Linked DNA regions of Homo sapiens: region 2 is linked to region 1. The links are contacts of gene promoters, found by promoter capture Hi-C in human tissues and cell types (Jung and others, 2019). All regions are on one chromosome and are shown on one strand. Each heading gives the region's core, a stretch centred on a gene start or on the middle of the fragment in contact. The rest is flanking DNA. Distances are from core to core; before and after follow the strand shown.

Region 1 (4,000 bases), core at 387-2,886:
GCTGAGGCAGGAGAATCGCTTGAACCTGGGAGGTGGACGTTGCAGTGAGCCGAGATCACACCACTATGCTCCAGTCTGGGTGACAGAGCAAGACTCTGTCTCAAATAAAATAAAATAAAATAAAACTAAAAAGTAAATAAAACTTAGCTACATCAACAGAAATATTAATGAACTGGAGAAGACACAACACCATTCATTAATTCAATACCTGCTTGAGGATTGCTTGCTATGGAGAAGAATAACAAGGAGAAGAAGGTGGAGATGGGGCTTACCCCAAAAAGGGGAAGAAATCTAGACTTATGAGAGAATGAAAATGAAGAAAATGACTACCAGCAAAAGCACAAAGGCATGGAAGGACTCATCAACATCAAGAACCCCAAGCAGGTAGGATAGACAACCAGAAAGGTCAAACAAGTGGATCTGGACAGGCTAAAGGAGCTTTTAAGGAGAAAATGCACTAGCAGGAGAGACAGAGCAAGCCAAGGTGGGCCTTGCCTGGCTGGTGATCATCTGGAAACAGTGGGAGAAGGCTGCAAGGAAGAAGGAAGTGGAGAGGAAAGCAAAATATGGTGCCACATTGTTGGGAAAATGAACATGGTTGCTCCCCTTGAATAAATAAACGCCACCTGCAGGAGGAGAGGCCAGGGACCTGGGCCAGAACCTCTGCTGTGTCTCACCTACCCTGTGCCCTGGCTCCACTGCAGCAGCCCTTCAAGGCCAGAAGCCCCATGGCCTGGGACATCCTCTTCATCTTGGCACAGAAATTGTTTAGGGAGGTGTCTGGGGGCGAGTGGGGAGAGAGTGGAGGAGGGACAGCTGTCATCTCTGAGATAGAAAGGTGCAGGAAAGCATTTCATATGTAACAATTTGAATGTTTTTTGCTGTTTTTAGAATTCAGAACCCTTGTTGGAGTGCCTAAGAAGTGGGGTAAGAAGAGCTTCCATTTGTCTGCTAGATCACATGTTAGTGGGTGGTTGTGCCAGGAGGCAGCTGCTGAGGGGTTTGCAACAACCACCCTGGTCTGTGTGCCTGAATGCTTATTCAGAATGGGGCTGTCAGCTGCAGGCTCATGCCCTTGGGTCCCTGAGGGTCATGGCTTTGTCCCTGGCGAGTCCTCTCTGACCTGACTCAATGGAACGAAGGAAGAAAGGAGAATTGCCCAGATGCTTTCTTTGGGTGATGCTGTTTTTGTTAAATTTCTTCCCCAGAAGTCCCTGACTATCTTTCAGTGTCCAAAAATATAATATATAGCCAAACTTACGTGTTTTGAGTCTGAGAGATTAACTATTTTTTCTCTGGGCACATTGCTGCCCCAGATTAAATTGTTTCTTAGTTAGAAAAACAAATGAATAACTAGAGATTCTAGCAGCAGTGTCTGTCACTAAGCGCTAGCCTGAATTTGTTGATGATGCTGTGATTCTATGCTAATTTAATGTATATTACTTAAAAGAAATAGGGAGAGAGAGGCAAAATAGTGTCCTGTCAGAAACTATCAAAGAGAAGCATGTATGTGTAGAAAAAATTATGAAAGAAGTGGTTTTTCTTAGGAAAATCTTACCTTTTTTCTACATGTCCCAGTCCCTACCAGATGTTCCCTTTTGTCTGCCTAGAGACCTGCCAGATTTCTCCAAATAATCCTGACTTCCTGGATACACCCACATAGAAACAGGTCGGGTTCTAGAAGAATTTGTCTGCTCCATGTTCCATCAGAATCAGATTATCTCATTATTTTGGAACAAGTTAATCTGCTGCAGATGAATTAATGAATGCTGCTGAGTTAGCTATTATCATTTTTTTCCTACATATTCTTAAAGGTATGTTTTAACCCAAAGACCCATAGTGACCAATGGCTCACTCTATGGCTGAGCTACACTTTAATTATCACTGTGCGTCAGGTTCCATACATATAAAAATAAACCTAATATTTAATTCAAAGTCATTTGTGAGGGGTTGGGACACCTGAGAATTTTGGATAATGATCATGAACATAGAGTCCAGATTCAAACCAAATGGCTTCAAATTCCTACTCAAACACTAGTATATGACATTAGATGCATTATTTAATATATCCAAACATTAGTTTCCTCACTTGAAAATTGGGATGATAATAGTATGTTCTAACTATACTGTTGTGAGATGAACAAAATAAATGAAATCACGCTCATAAAGAACTTAGGATAGTGCTTGGTATGAAGCAAGTGATCAGCGGATGTCAGCTTTTATTAGCAGTATTTAAGTATAGTTATTTGCAACCAAAAAGTGCTTAGCGATATCAGTTATCATCTTCTACAAATTATAGGAGACCACAGCTTCTGAGATAATTTTATTTTATTTTACATATAGTAAGCTATATACTATTTCAAATAAGTAAAGTCTTTCTCTTCGCAGACTCTAATTGCAGAGTCTAATTTGATTCTTATTTGGTCATCTAATAGCTCTTTGTTCCAAACTGGGGTTTTTATATATAAGGGGTTCAGTGATATACTACTAAAGACAATGTTGATTTTTTTGCATAAAGGAATTCAATAGCAGAAATGCATTTTAATATAATAAATTAAATCTTACAACTTTAATCAATGAATTTTCATATATAAAAATGACCATAAATTATATAAATAACTGCAGTGCTTAGCCAGTATTCAAACTGTAGGTTTCAGAAATCTTGTTTGAAAGCTTAAAATATAGGGCAGTTATGATATGGTATTTGGAGACGATACAGGGTGTGATATAAAGGTTCGACTACAAGGCTAATGTTATAAACTGGTCACATTTTGAACTGCAAATTCTGGTGACTTAATTATTTTTCCAAGAGTTTGCCAAAGTCAATAAAGAACAATTAGCTCAACATCTATGAACTTAAAAAGGACTTAGACATTCTGCTATATTAAAAAGACTAAATGCAGTACTTATCTTGGTGTGTTTCTTGTTTCTACTCTGGGAAGATTAAAAAACAGATAACTTTAGAAATTACAGACCTGTCAGCATCAGTATTTAGTTGAAAACTTACTGAAACATATCATCAAAAAATCAATTTTCAAGCACCTAGAAAATCATGAGTTACTGGGTAAAATCTCCTTGGCACTGTGAAAAATAAATCCTGTCAAATCAACTTAATTTCCTTCCACGACAGAGTGACAAAAACAGTAGACACAGAGAACTGGATAGACAAAATATATCCTGACCAAAGTCAGGCAAATTCCACATAACACAGAGAGAAAATACAGTTTGGGTGACATTTTGTCTTTATTAAGTACTCCTATTGAATAACTATGCTGAACATATCTGGAAGTGATACTCAGCTGGAATATTGAACATGTAAGGTGACTGGTTAGATATAAAGATGAGAGCATTCAAGACCAAGTTGTGGCAGGGCTGATTCTCACTATTTTAAACAAAATATTATCGGTAATTATGAGAAACCAAGTAAGAATCAGCATCATTTTGCTACTTCTGTTTTTTTAAAAAAGCAAGATCCCCAACAGAAAAGGATGTGTAGAACTGTAATGCCCACATAATGTTGCGATGGGACTACTGTTGGCACATTTGGGGTTTGGAGGCCCAGGAGAGTGAAGATGAATGGCATGAAATGAGGCATGCCTTTGAGTCAATGCTTCTGACCAGTGAGGGATCCATTTTTACTTCTGAGTCCAAATGTTTTTCCCACAAGAAAAGGTTAATGTATCCCTCTCATCTCCAAAGACTCATTTAACAAAATGACTCGTTTAACAAAATGAAAACAGCATGGACAAATAAGAGAGTGACATTTTTAAGAAACATTGGTATAGTTCCTAAGCAGAAAACCAGAAATCTGTGTGTGCATTAAAATAATAAACCACTTAGTAAAAATAATAATTGATTTTAAAGTGAATTTTGAGGAATCCCTTTAGCAGATATTCAAAGTATTTGGAAATAATGATAAATAACCTGATTTCAGTACATTATCATCCCATCCTAGAAGCTTGTAACAGTGGGAGACAGATGAAGATAGTGAGATTTCAAA
Region 2 (4,000 bases), core at 976-3,475, 320 kb after region 1:
TTAATTTAAATTTCAGTGAAATCTGGAATATTTACAATAAATTTAATTAATGAACCAATGTTACATTAAAAATGAGCCACATATTCTGATTTATACTTTTCTAAATGTTTTATGATGTTAACAAACATAAATTTCACATTTATCTAGTAATAAAAAATAAAATGTTGAGAGTTCCTTTTTTATTGGAAACTTTTTTATTGTAGTAAAATATACATAATGCAAAACTTATTATTTTAATGTGTGTAGTTCAGTGGCATTGAGTACATTAACATCACCACTATCCATTTCCAGAATGTTTTCATCTTCCGCAGCGAGTTCTTATCATGAACATTAAATGTCAAGAAAACGTAGCACAGGAAGCTTGTTACTTTCAATCATGCAGAACACTTTCCATGTCTTAAGATCTGTTTTAACTTGATAAGTGGGAAGACAGAGTTTTGCTTAACACCCTGTGTTGTAAATATTCCCAATGTCTACCTTCTGTTAGTAGTGAAAAGAAATAATTCACAGCATAGTTTCTAGATCAATAGAAATGCTGTAGATCTTAATGATTTACACTGTAGCTTTTCTTTTTATTTAAAAGAGATTATTTGTTTAAAGAAGACTAACTTTGCTGTCACTTTTGTTTTCTTTGTATAGAGAGGTCTTATTTTATTCTGTCTTGATAGTGGTGAGCTGTTTTGATTATTGTATGTGTGTGAAATGCCTTAATAAACACTTTGGACACAGAGCTCAACATTTAAAGACATTTTCCCCTCAACACTTTGAAGATATTATTCCATTGTCTTCGAAGATAAATTGTTGCTGAGATAAACTCTGCTTTTAATATGCTTGTTATTTCTCCATAGAAAATCTGTATATTCACTTTTAAATATTTTCAATATGTTTCATTATTTTTGTATGCTGATTGTAGATTCATTTTTATTAATGTTGCTTAGCACCTAATGGGCTTTGTCAAATTTTCGCCACTTCTTTCTCAATTTTGAAAAATTCTGAGCCATTATCTCTTTGATTATCACCTTCTCATCCTTTCTATTATCCTATTCTTTGAAGTTTATTATATGCTGCTGTTTCTTGATACAACTAATTTCTCTTTCATATGTCCTAATTTTGTTACACTCTGGAAATTTACATGATTTTATGTATTTATTTTAATTGATAATTTAAAATTATATATATTTATGGTATACAGCGTGATGTTTTAAAACATGCATACGTTATAGAATAGCAAAAATCAAGCTATTTAACATACACACCATCTCATACACTTGTTTTTTTGGGATAAAAGCAGTTAAAACCTATCTCAGCAATTTTTAAGTACACAATATATTATTAGCTATAGTGGCCATGTTGCATAGTCGATCTCTTAAACTTATTTTTCCTGTCTAACTGAAATTTTGTATCTTTTGACCAAGACCTCCCTAGTCTCCATCTCCTAACCCCCAAAACCTGGTAACCACCATTCTATTCTCTGCTTCTGTGAGTTTCACCTTTTTAGATTTCACGTATAAGTGAGAGGATGTGGTATTTGTTTCTGTGTCTGGTTTATTTCAATTAGCATAATTTCCTCTAGGTTCATCTATGTTTTCGAGAATAACAGGATTTCCTTCTTTTTTTAGGGTAGAATAGTATTTCATTGTGTGTATATACCGCATTTTCTTTATCCATTCATTTGCTGAAGGACAACAATTAGGTTGATCCCATATCATGGCAATTGAGGATAAGGCTGCAATGAACATGGAAGTGCAGATATCTCTTTGACATACTGATTTCATTTCTTTTGGATACATACCCACTAGTGGGCTTGCTGAATCATCAGGTAGTTCTATTTTTAATTTTTTGAGAAATCTCCATACTGTTTTCCATAATGGCTATGCTAATTTACATTTCTACCAACAATGTATAAGGATTCTCTTCTCTCTGTACCCTCACAAAACAGTTGTTATCTTTTCTCTATTTGAGAATAGCCATTCTAACAGGTGTGACGTGATATCTTATTTTGGTTTTAATTGCATTTCCTTGATGATTAGTGAGGTCGTGCATCTTTCTATATATTTGTTGGCTATTTACATGTCTTCTTTGGAGAAATGTCTACTCACAACCTTTGCGCATTTTTAAGTGTTTTTTTTTTGTTGTTGTTTGTTTGTTTGCTATTCAGTTGTTTGAATTCCTTACACATTTTGGATATTAACCCCTTATTAGAAATATGGTTTATAAATATTGTCCATTTTTTTAAGTTGTCTCTGCATTCTGTTGATTGTTTCCTTGGCAGTGAAAAAGGTTTTTAGTTTGATGTAATTTCATTTTTCTATTTTTGATTTTGTTGCCTGGGCTTTTATGGTCATTGCCAAAAACTCATTGCTTAGACCAATGTCATAAAGCTTTTCCTATGTGTTTTCTTCCAGTTATTTTACAGTTTCAGACCTTAAATTTTAGTCCTTAATTCATTTTCCATTGATTTTTTTAATATGGTATGAGATAAGGGTCTAATTTTCTTTTTCTTCACATCCAGTTTTCCCAATACCACTTTTAAAAATTTTATCTTTTCTCCAATATGTATTTTTAATATCATTATCAAAAGAGAATTGCATAGATTTATTTCTGGAGCCTCTATTCTGTTTCATTGGTCTATATGTCTGGTTTTGTGCCAGTACCTTGCTGTTTTGATTATTACAGCTTGTAACTGATTCTGATATTAGGTAGTGTGATGCCTCCAGCTTGTTCTTTTGCTCAAGATTTCTTCAGGTATTCCTAACCTTTCATGGCTTTGTACACATTTTAGGATTGTTTCTTCCATTTCTGAAAAAATGTCATTGGAATTTTGCTTTGGATCTATAGACTTCTTTGAGTAGTATGGACCTTCTTCCAATCCATGGAAACTGAGTATCTTTCCATTTATTTGTACCTAAATGTATTATCAAATGTACTAATTCTTTATTCAGCTATGTTTAATTTACTACTTATTTATTGATTTTTAAATGTAAAGGATTCTAATTTTCTAACATATTCTTAGCTCTTTTTACATGTTCATCTATTAGTTTACAATCTCTTGGCCATTTTATAGATGCCTTTTGAAAATTTTAAACGAATTCACTTTAAAGTGGCCTCAAATTACTTTAATACTCTGAATGTTTTTTCCATGTATAATTTTTCTACTCAAGGGTATGTTGACCTTTTTCATGGCAATAAACTTTTTTATTTGCTTTGCAGTGTTTGTTGTATAGCTCATTTTGCATTGTTTCCTAGCATGTTCATCCATTCCTGCCAGAACGTTACATGATGGATTCAGACCAGGATCTATGGAGAATACATCTCCAATTATAGTGTACTCCTTCTACTTATTTTTTTAAGTTAACTGTAAAACAGTCTTAAGCAGGTTCAGGAGGTATGCCACAAGAAGGCATTATTATCATAGGAGATGACAGTTCCATGCATGTTGATTGCGCCTGAAGACATTAAAGTGAAAAAAATATAAAGGTAGAAAACTGTGATATTATCTTGACTCTATGTAGGCCTAGGCTAATGTGTGTGTTTGTGTCTACTTTTTTAACAAAAAAGGTTAAAAAGTAAAATAAATAATTTTAAAAATGGAAGAATGCTTAAAGAAAATATTTTTGTACTGCTGTACATTGTGTTTGTGTTTTAAACTATTATTTTGAGAGTCAAAAAATTTAATTAAAATGTTTATACAATAAAAAAGTTACACTAAGCTAACTTATTATTGAAGAAAAAAGTGTTTTAGTAAATTGAGTGGAGACTGTACAATGTTTATAAAGTCTATAGTCATGTATAATAATGTCCTAGGCCTTTACGTTCACTCACCACTCATTCCCTGACTCACCCAGAGCAATTTGGTCCTTTTTGTCATTGGGATATAACGAAACAAATGAATTTGATAAAAAAATTGTTTCACAGAACATATTAAAATTGTAGTTATGAGTTCTGTTTTATTAAAATTGCAGTTATGAGTTCTGTTTTATTAAAATTGCAAGAGTTTTCA

The links. The method cuts DNA at HindIII sites, captures the fragments that hold promoters and counts their contacts. A contact is called where the count stands out against the background at its distance.
Region 2: a contact is called between a fragment that was not itself captured here and the fragment with the promoter of XIRP2 in region 1, in 1 of the 25 tissues and cell types used here (mesendoderm cells).

The regions. Positions count from the first base shown.
Region 1 is chr2:166,886,116-166,890,115 of GRCh38, reverse strand. XIRP2 (xin actin binding repeat containing 2) reads right to left here and starts at 1,636. Exons shown (of 11, transcript NM_152381.6): 1 at 1,559-1,636. The HindIII fragment of the contact is 6,044 bases long and covers 1-3,316 here.
Region 2 is chr2:166,564,946-166,568,945 of GRCh38, reverse strand. It overlaps LOC107985958 (a long non-coding RNA gene), which reads left to right. Exons shown (of 4, transcript XR_001739762.1): 4 at 1-29. Among named protein-coding and RNA genes, the nearest start is that of SCN7A, 73 kb to the right of the region's middle. The HindIII fragment of the contact is 4,250 bases long and covers 101-4,000 here.